3 separate regions of the Homo sapiens genome follow, and all the other regions are linked to region 1. The links are contacts of gene promoters, found by promoter capture Hi-C in blood cells and fetal thymus (Javierre and others, 2016). All regions are on one chromosome and are shown on one strand. Each heading gives the region's core, a stretch centred on a gene start or on the middle of the fragment in contact. The rest is flanking DNA. Distances are from core to core; before and after follow the strand shown.

Region 1 (3,368 bases), core at 467-2,966:
CAAAAGTCAGAACTCAAACCAGGTTAAATGGTCTACTGAGGGACTTTTTTTTTTTTTTGACAGAGTCTCCCTCTGTCACCCAGGCTAGAGTGCGGTGGAGAGATCTCCGCTCACTGCAGACTCAGCCTCCTGGGATTACAGGCATATGCTACCATGCCCAGCTAATTTTTCCTATTTTTAGTAAAGACAGGGTTTCCCTGCTTTGGCCAGGCTGGTCTCGAACTCCTGGCCTTAAGTGATCAACCCGCCGAGGCCTCCCAAGGTGCTAGGATCACAACCGTGAGCCGCCGCACCTGGCCAACCGAGGGAATTTAAATAGGGAAAAAGTCACTTCACATGTGACTGTTCAGGAAAATATGTTACATAGAACAAAGTGCAAAGGTTGCTATTACCAGAATACAATGCCCATCAACCTGTTAATTACATAACAAAGTTAGCCAGTTAATTAGAGAGGTGGTTTGCAAATAGAAAACAGAAACAGCACGGGATCTGGAGTTATAATTGCTGAATGTGAATCTAGGTTCCACAACCATATTTGTGGCCGTAGACAGGTTTACAAACTGCTTATAGCTTCCGTTCAAAACCAAAAAATGGGACTAATCTCACTGCGTATTTTCGGACGATTAAAGTACGATAATGTTTTGAAAGCCTAATGCTATATAACTATTGGTTTTATTACTTCGGGCTCTCTGTCTAGAACAATGAAATTCCAAATATCGAAACAGCACCACTAGAATTGAACACTTTTGTGCATTTCTTGGGAATATAAGAGTGTCAGTTTTATGGGTTAAAGAAGAGAAAAAGGGTGTAAGTTTTCTATATCAGGTTTTTTTTAGATCCTTCCTTGGAGGTTGAGAAATCTGCTTTTCTGGTGTAGGAGTTAAAAATAGCTGAAATCTCCCAATTTCTGCCTTCACTGCACATTAACTTGCATAACACCAGCAAAACATGGGCAGCAATTCTTTAGGATTATTCTAAAACCGCAGCTTTTTTGGTCCAAGACATAACTTTAACTTAATTTTAAGTGACATCTAAATGGCAGTGGTGTGAACATATCAAGAATATTTAAGATACCAAAATTCATCTAGTGACAAACTTATTTAGAATCTATTAAGATCCAATACTAGAATATACACACAAGTTCACATAAAATTCTGCAGGTTTTTTTTTTACTTTTTTTTTTCCCGTAAGCAACGTGGAAACGTTACAACGAAAAGCTTATTAAACATTAAGTATTTCAAGGAGTAGCTGCTCCATTTTTCTTTTTCCCGTGGTTCTGACACAGAGACGGGGTCACTTTGGAAAAAGGTGGGATTCCCGCGGTAAATATTTGGAGGGTTTACCAGAGAAAGAAAAACGATATTCTAAAGAGAGGATGCCGGCTATAACGGGGTCGCCTGACGGGAGGATACGGAAAATGAAACGCTAGGCTACGTTCCGTCCGGTGGTAGGAGGCGTGAAAGCAGGTTGGGGGCCCCTAGGCTGGCTCCTTCCTCAGCCCGACTTCCCACTCCTCCCGGCCGCACCTATTTTTGGCCCAGGGCCCCCTGCTCCGACACCACAATACCCATGTTCCAGCCCCACCGCACCGCTGGGCTCCCTCTCACCCTGCAGCATCGCCCGAACCCCGCTGCCATGTTGGCTCCCGTTCCGGCCACTCGGACAATAATACACGGGTCACGGCCTTGACATACTCCCCGAACGCGGGACTCCTCTGGTCCCGCCCACTGGAGCCCGTGGGCGGGATGGGGCGGGGCGGGAAGAGGCGGTTGGGCTGCGGAAGGACGGGGCGCTGCGCTAGGCGGGGTGGCAGCGGTCCCCGGCGCCGGGTAGCCAACGCATGCTCCGTGACCCTTGCGTGCGCCGTCGCTGCGACCTGGGGAGGGGTCGCATCCCCTCTCCGGGCAATCTCTGATAGTCCTGGTTTGGTTTTCTGCGTTTCCACCTCTGGCCCTCTCTGTGGGACGCCGAGGCTGACCGCAGCGCGGAAAGAGAGCCAGGGCGGGGGAGGGGGACGGCGGCGGGGCTGGGAGGGCCCGGTTGCGCTGAACGGTGGGGGGACTTGCGGCGCGGTGCAGGACGGGAACCTGGGTTAGAGGGCGTGGCTGGGGCCTGGAGGGAGAGCGGCCCCCGTGGTCAGCCTTCACCTTTACCCGGAGAGAACGGTCAAACCCAGATCGTGTCTGCTTGGCGGATTCAAAGTATTAGTACATTTTGCTCTCAAATGCCCTACCTAAAGCGAAAGCATACTTGTGTTTCCTTAAAATTTAAAAGAGAATTTAATTGTTTAGGTAAATTTGACCTTTCCGCGTATTCCCAAGGCTGTTTATGACTTGTCCGCTGATGTGGTGTCCTTGGATATGCGGGTGCAATCCGAGGCTGTCCAAAGCTCCTGGTTCAGCGAATGATGGAAGTGAATGTCTCCCTGAGGAATTCTACCTGGAGTCACTTTCTCTTCCAGTGAGACCCTGAGTTTTGAGATGGTAGCTTATACTAAATCTTATACTAACTTAACATTTTCTTTTGCCCAATAAAGGTCACCCATAAATTCATCTAATTTAGCTGTTAAAATTCTATATCCTGTTATTGTATTCCCCTACTTTGTCTTCTGGGAATTTATAGTGTGTTAGTCCTAGGTACAAGGCAGAATGTTAATTAAGCGCTATATTCAAAGTGAAAGTACCAGGAAAATTCGGAAAAGGGATAAAGAGCTGAGTTTGTCCTGGTATAGGCAAGAAAGCCTTCAAAGTGGTGGTGGTAAGTAAAACACAAAGCGGACTCTTAAAGATGATTAGGAATTGTCTATTCATGTCTCCTTTGTTCCAATTTCTTATTCTGAACATTTTAAACACAGAAAAGATGAACGAAAAGCACAAAATCACCCATATGCCTATTGTAACCCCTTCTTACTGTACACGTGGCTGGCAGAGAAGCGAAGATGGAGCCCTCATCTTAAACATGTCTAGTCGGTAGTTCCTGCCACCATTCACCCAAGCAAGCTACCCCCTTGTTTGTCTGTGCCTGCAGCTCGACTTCACAGGCTGCTCTTAGAAAAGGATTTGGGGCTGCTTTTCATTAAAAAGAAAAGCCTTACTGATGTTGGGAACGGGCGCTCAGTGTTGCAAAAATCAACACTGAGACAAAGGAGCTCTTAGCAAGGCTAGTTTACTTTCTGCAGAAAGGTTGCCGCTCGCTAGTAGTCTTGCCACGAGAGCACACACGCATAAAGGAGACAGGGTCATTTATAACCTGACACGTGCACCCTACTACCGTGTCCGGTTTCCATTGGCTGGAAGGGGACCTCTGTACTTGTCCTGATTGGCTAGCAACTTAGAACTTTCCAAAAGAGGCAAAGACAGAGGAGAACA
Region 2 (3,368 bases), core at 869-3,368, about 10 Mb before region 1:
AGGCCTCTCTCGCTGGCATGCAGGTGGCCACCTCACTGTATCATCGTATAGTCTTTTCTCTCTGCAGGCATCCCTCGTGTCTCTTTTTGTGTCCAAATTTCCTCTTCTTATAAAGATATCAGTCAGATTGGATTAGGGCCGACCTTAATGGTCTCATTTTAACGAAATCACCTTTAAAGGTCCTATCTCCAAATATACTCACAGTCTAAGGTACTGGGTGTTACGGATTTAACACACGAATTTGAGGGGACACAATTCAGCCTGTAAGAGCCAGTAACTTCGGCCCACTACCACATGGGCCTCTTGGTACTCACAACCTGGCAGCTTGCTTCCCCCAGAGTGAATGATCTAGGAAGGAGACCAAAAAAGCAAGAGCCTAAGGCAGAAACCACAGCCTTTCTCCAAACCTAATCTTAGAGGTAACGTATTACTTCTGCTGTATGCTATCAGTGACACAGACCAATCCTGGGATGATGCAGGAGCAGTCTACACATTGGTCTGAACACTGTGGGGGTGGAGAATCACTGGGGAACATACTGGTGCTTGTCTACCACAAACCTATATCCATAATATATGAAGAACTACTACAATTTGATAATAAAAGACGTCAATTAAAAATGGGCAAAAGATCTGAATAAACATTTCATTAAAGAAAATATCCAAATGGCCAGTTGGCAGATGAAAAGATGTTCAACATCATTAGTCATTAAAGAAATGTAAATTCTCAATGACGTACCCCTACACATCTATAATCAAATAACTGATAATACTAAGAATTGGCCGGGATGTAGAGAAATAGGAACCCTCAGCCAGTAGGAATGTAAAATGGTATAGCTACTTTGGAAAACAGTTTGGGCATTTCTTTAAAAATTAACATAAATTTATATGGCCCAGCAATTCCACTCCTAGTTATTTACTTAACGGGAAATGTAAACATGTCCACACAAAGACTTGCATATGAATGTGGAAGCAGAATTATTCGTAATAGCCCAAACTGGAAACAAGCCAAATGCCCACCAACTGGTACATGCATGAAAAAACGTGCCACATTCATACAATGCAATGTTATTCAGCAATACCGGGCATTAGGCACTTTCGCCTAATATATTTATGATGTTCTCTGAGAGAATCCTGCAGAATGCTGGGAATGGGGAATAGCCTGACGCAGGCTGTTACTTAGAAAGAATGGAAAGAAAAATTAATGCCCTCTTTCCTACTTGAAACCCATCATGATTCCCAGTTATACACTGAGTTTGTGTCTGTCACTGACAGTTGATTCCTATGCATGATCTCATATTATCTTCGCAATGACACTGGGAGATTTATATTAATAATACCATGCTCCCTAGTTTATAGCTTCAAGAAACTAAAGCTTGCAAAGGTGTAACATCAGGTGTGTCCTTTTTCATACAAGATTGGATTTAATGGTTAACACAGATAAGGGTGGGTTTTCCCATTTCCAGAGTGTAAGGGTTTCGCTTCTCTCCCTCTGCCGGTCTCCTCCACTGTTTACACCCAGTAGGGCGTGGAGGGTGGCCTAGGGTGTGGCCCAGGAGGCTTCCCTAAGGGAAGGGGGTGGTGGAAACCAGGCGGTTTGAAGCCCATCAGGATTCCCAGTTATATATCGAGTTTGTGTCCGTCACTGCTAGTTGATTTCCATGCATGATCTCATATAATCTTTGCAATGACACTGGGAGATTTATATTAATAATACCATGGTCCCTAGTTTATAGCTTTAAGAAACTAAAGCTTGGAAAGGCCTAATAACATCAGGTGTGTCCTCCATTTTCATGCAAGATTGGATTTAATGGTTAACACAGATTAGGGTGGGTTTTCCCACTTCCAGAGTGTAAGGGTTTCGCTTCTCTCCCTCTGCCGGTCTCCTACACTCTTTACACCCAGCAGGGCGTGGAGGGTGGCCCAGGGAGTGGCCCAGGAGGCTTCTCTAAGGGAAGAGGGTGGTGGAAACCAGGAAGGAGACGAGAACCCCAGCGGGCAAGTCACGCAGTTACGCTTGTTCGCCCAGAGAATCCGGCAGGGCCTCCGCAGAGCCGTAAAGAGCTCTACAAGTCGTGAAGGGGCGAGGCGCAAAAGCGTAGCTTTACGGCGATTCGAGCAGTCGCGTCAAGCAGGCTATTCCGGGTTTGTGGCTGCTTGGCTCCACACGTGGGCCGCCGTAGGTATTCCGACCGGTAATTCCTCCTATTGGTGTGCAGCAGCCACATTGAAGGATAGAGTGGCAGCAGAGGCCAAGGATCGTGAGTTGATGGAGTTTGCTGCTGAAAATGAAGGGAAGTCTGGGGGAGGTCTCCACAGCGTAGCTGAGGGGGTGCGGCTAAGTCCAGAGCCTGGCAGGGAGGGAGTAAGGGACTTAGCAGGGGCGGAGGAGTTCGGCGGCGGAGAGGAGGGGACAGGGCTGACAGGGATAAAGGAGATAGGGGATGGAGAGGAAGGAAGTGGACAAAGGCCAGAGGAAATACCGATGGACCTAACGGTAGTGAAGCAGGAAATTATAGACTGGCCAGGTACAGAAGGCAGGTTGGCTGGCCAGTGGGTAGAACAGGAGGTGGAGGATAGGCCTGAGGTGAAGGATGAGAACGCAGGCGTATTGGAGGTGAAGCAGGAGACGGATAGTAGTTTAGTGGTAAAAGAAGCGAAGGTGGGTGAACCAGAGGTAAAGGAAGAGAAGGTAAAGGAAGAGGTAATGGACTGGTCAGAAGTGAAGGAAGAGAAGGATAACTTGGAGATAAAACAGGAGGAGAAGTTTGTTGGTCAATGCATAAAAGAGGAATTGATGCATGGAGAGTGTGTAAAAGAAGAGAAGGATTTCCTGAAGAAAGAAATCGTGGATGATACAAAGGTGAAAGAAGAGCCTCCGATAAATCACCCGGTGGGCTGCAAGCGGAAACTGGCCATGTCAAGGTAGGGCATGGGGGATTCCATTTAGGGGAATAAAGCTGTGGAGTCCTCATGTCTAGAGTGAAGGAAACCACACTATCAGGAGAAGGTGGAATAATGAAAAATGAGCACAAGTTTGGGTTTCTGGAGTCAGACGGCGTTCGCGGGGGTGGGTTGGGAAGTGGAGGGTGTTGTACATGACAACACAACAAATTCAGTGAAAATACATGAAATTAGTAGTGTCCAATGGGTAATGGTCAAGTTAGGAAAGTGGAAATTCTGGGGACCAAAAGATCAGTTGGAACTGGATCTGGCTTGACTTAATATGCTCTTTACTCGGTATTCCTTTGAGAGAGAATAGAGATGAGAAAGTCTAATAAAACTAACAATGACAAAGTAGATTAAGTTAAAACTAGGCAAAAATACACTTGACCTCAATTATCAAGCTTCTTCATGGGTGCTGTGAATAT
Region 3 (3,368 bases), core at 1-2,500, 5.3 Mb after region 1:
AGCGATTCTCCTGCCTCAGCTTCCCGAGTAGCTGAGATTACCCGCCACCATGCCCAGCTAATTTATTTATTTTTAGTAGAGATGGGGTTTCACCATGTTGGCCAGGCTGGGCTCGAACTCCTGTCCTCAGGTGATCCACCCGCCTCAGCCTCCCAAAGTGCTGGGATTACAGGCGTAAGCCACTGCACCCGGTCATGAGTTGTGTTCTTAATCACTAAGCCACAGTGCTTAAATGACGCAATAGGCTAAATTGTTACTAGCATTATTAGAGATAGCATAGTGTAGCTGAGTGCCTAGGAGTTGGTTCCTAAAGCAACCTCAAGTTTCTAAAGTTTGAATTCCATCTCCAATACTTACTAGTCTAAGGCTAGTTACTTAACTCCCTAAATCTCAGCTTCTTTATTGGGAAAAAATGAGAATTCGGTTCAGACTAGGGTTGTTGTTAGGATTAGATGAGACAATACATGTAATACACATGATATATACGAGCACGTATTTGGCATATAGTAGGTACTCAATAACTATTCATACAGCTACTGGAAACAATCTTAATTCTAGTCAAGTTATCAGACCCTTAATATTTTTTAAGCTGACTCCGTACTACATCTTTAAAATTTATGCTGCTAAAGGTAACTCAAAAAAGTTATGACCTTCGATTTTTAATTGCAAATTTGTCAAAATCACCTGAATTTCAGGCCAAATCTAAATGGCAAGCTGGACAAACGGCTCCTTCCAGTCCTGCTTATCAAAAGAAATACGATCACTGGACCATCCGATACAAAGCTGTGCTGCAAGAATTACAGTGTAGAAACATCTTTCGGTTGCCTTCCTAATTTATAAGTCATATTATAAATTACTTACATGCCTTTCAAATTCATAAGCCGTATCTCTTTTACCGCCCAACTGTGGACAGCCCCAGACAGACCCAGCTCACCGAGTGCTGGCCAGGCGCCCCTTGCTTGAACGTGGTGGACAGTGAGATGGGGGGCACTACAGCCCTGGAGGTCCATTGCTCTGGATCCTGGCCCACATGGATCGCCTGCGTGGCGAAATGTTGGAAGTGTGGCAGGAAACCTTGTGAGGAGGCGTCTTTTTCCTGCATGCTGAACCGCGAAAGAAGAAGAGAGGAAAAGAACACCGAAGATATAACCAGTCGAAGCCGGGTGTCCGGGGTTGGGAGAGACAGAAGGATCAGGCGAGAAGGAGCTAAAGCACGCAGGTAGAGCCGACGGCGAGCGCACTAAAGCGGCACACAGCGATTGTTGGGGTGGATTTTATTAGCGGGTCTGCAGTCTCACGATCACAGTGGGGCGGGACCAGCGCGGCCCATTGAGCGCAGGCCCGACGCGTCTCCCGCTCCTTATTGGCTGACAGCAGAGGCGTTGCCTGAAACGTCACCGCGACCGCCCCACCCAGTGCACAAAGCGGAGTGAAGCTGGAGTCCCTGGGTCCAAGTGGTGTTAGTCCCTGCGGGCGAAATTCCTGAGTACCCGTCCTGAGGAGGCTGCCATGCTGGCTCCTGAGAGCCACCCGGGCGTCTCTGTGACCTCAGGCCGGAGGTTCGCCCGAGACGTGGCGGAAAGCTGGCTTAGTGTTGAAACCGGGTAACTGTAAACAGACCACATAAATAGCCTTCTTTTACTGTGGTAGTTACCTCTGACCACCATCCTTTGCCCTGAGGGCGGTGCTAAAAGACGTAAGCCACAACGTGGAGGGTGGTTAAGAAAACAGTTGCCCAAGCCGCCCAGTTTGCAGCTTGGATTCTCATCAGTCACAGCTTGCGTTTTAGGTACACTGAACTCTGTAATGACCCAGTGCTTACGATGACGAAACGATGACTAGAAGTGAAGGTTAAATTGTTCGTAAGACATAACGAAGCTACTGTAGTGAGGACGTCTATGCACAACTCTGGCAGCTTCCTAAAAGTTAGTCAATCTTGAGCTTTTTCAAGCATCATTATCTTCTTTTAAAGTACAGAGAGAAACTCCCCCTAATGAGAAAGATAATGTGGCTTTGAAATACTTACTGGAGCCTAACATCCTTACACAAAATGCTTTTGCTTTTACACAACAGCAACATCCCTGCAGGAAAAAGGATTGTTTACCACTCACCTGCGCCCAGAGCCCTACTCTCAGAAGAATCACTGCTTTAAAACAAAAATCTCCCTGTTCCCTAAGCAATACAGACTTGACCTACTTACTATTGTGGCTGTTTTCTAGCACCAGGAAATTTGGGGATATTTCTGTTGTTGCAAAATATTCGCTAAAGATCTAAAACTTTATTAAACAAATTAAGAACAAGGAGAATAAGGAATAAACAGCTCTTAAAATTTACAGTTTGAAAGAAAGATATGAAGAGAAAGAATGAGGCAATTTGCTTTTCAAATTAGCTTTAGGGACATTTAACCCATTAAGCACTAGAGGAGTGGTGCTTGAGGGCCTACAAGCTTTTAGAATCCTACCAAACTTTGTATGGCTGGGGGAAAAAATGGATAGACTTCAAAACACTAATGTATATTAATACATATTTAATTAATATTTTTCTTTTAAAAATATAACATCAACTGCAACTCACCTCAATATTTATGTATAACTATAGGTGGGTATTTTTGTGTAATATGATATGGCATTTAGGGGCCAAAAGGGTCTAAAACAGTTCCAATTAGTTTTACCTCCTAATATTTGCTGACAAACCCTGAGTTGCATAAATACAGACATTTTATTTAGTGTACTGTAATAAAGAATCATTCAGAAGACAGCACTAGGCTGGGTGCATTGGCTAACGCCTATTAATCCCAGCACTTTGGGAGGCCGAGGTGGGCGAATCACCTGAAGTCAAGAGTTCGAGACCAGCCTGGCCAGCAGGGTGAAACCCCATCTCTACAAAAAACACAAAACTTAGCTGGGCGTAGTGGTGCACACCTGTAATCCCAGCTCCTTGGGAGCCTGAGACAGGAGAATCGCTTGAACCCAGGAGGCGGAGGTTGCAGTGAGCCGAGATCATGTCACTGCACTACAGCCTGGGCCACAGAGTGAGACTCCATCTCAAAAAAAAAAAAAAAAAAGATAGCACCCAATACAAATGCTATAAATCAGGCCTTTTTTACTCTCTTAAACTGAGAAAACTTTATTGGATGCAGCTTAATATGTATCAAGGATTTAAAATATCCCCTTTCTATGACTCAGCAATTTCTTTTGTAGAAAATTTTACTTGCAGGAATTTATCCTTTAGATATATTCTTAATATGTGTACAGAGATGAGCAAGGATGCTTTTTAAACCTACGTTACTATTTTTAATAGCAAAAGAGTGAAAAATGGCTTAATTATTCATTCTTAAAAGACTGGTTAACTGGTTATGATACTACTCT

The links. Contacts are between HindIII fragments. The CHiCAGO score rates a contact against its expected background, and 5 or more counts as called.
Region 2: a contact is called between the fragment with the promoter of ZNHIT6 here and the fragment with the promoter of ACADM in region 1, in 1 of 17 cell types (fetal thymus). The highest score is 6.5, in fetal thymus.
Region 3: the fragment with the promoter of CTH here is called in contact with the fragment with the promoter of ACADM in region 1 in 3 of 17 cell types (non-activated CD4 T cells, total CD8 T cells and total B cells); the score reaches 7.2 in non-activated CD4 T cells.

The regions. Positions count from the first base shown.
Region 1 is chr1:75,723,057-75,726,424 of GRCh38, reverse strand. ACADM (acyl-CoA dehydrogenase medium chain) reads right to left here and starts at 1,716. Exons shown (of 12, transcript NM_000016.6): 1 at 1,608-1,716. The coding sequence starts at 1,637. It also overlaps a transcript of SLC44A5 not described here. RefSeq lists enhancers at 1,501-1,590, 2,241-2,330 and silencers at 1,721-1,770, 1,821-1,870. The HindIII fragment of the contact is 3,396 bases long and covers 1,220-3,368 here.
Region 2 is chr1:85,707,183-85,710,550 of GRCh38, reverse strand. ZNHIT6 (zinc finger HIT-type containing 6) reads left to right here and starts at 2,118. Exons shown (of 10, transcript NM_017953.4): 1 at 2,118-2,922. The coding sequence starts at 2,267. RefSeq lists enhancers at 1,195-2,027, 1,966-2,325, 2,028-2,861. The HindIII fragment of the contact is 1,595 bases long and covers 1,752-3,346 here.
Region 3 is chr1:70,409,150-70,412,517 of GRCh38, reverse strand. It overlaps CTH (cystathionine gamma-lyase), which reads right to left and starts at 1,250. Exons shown (of 12, transcript NM_001902.6): 1 at 935-1,250. The coding sequence starts at 1,102. RefSeq lists a silencer at 1,210-1,359 and an enhancer at 1,420-1,679. The HindIII fragment of the contact is 3,560 bases long and covers 1-2,448 here.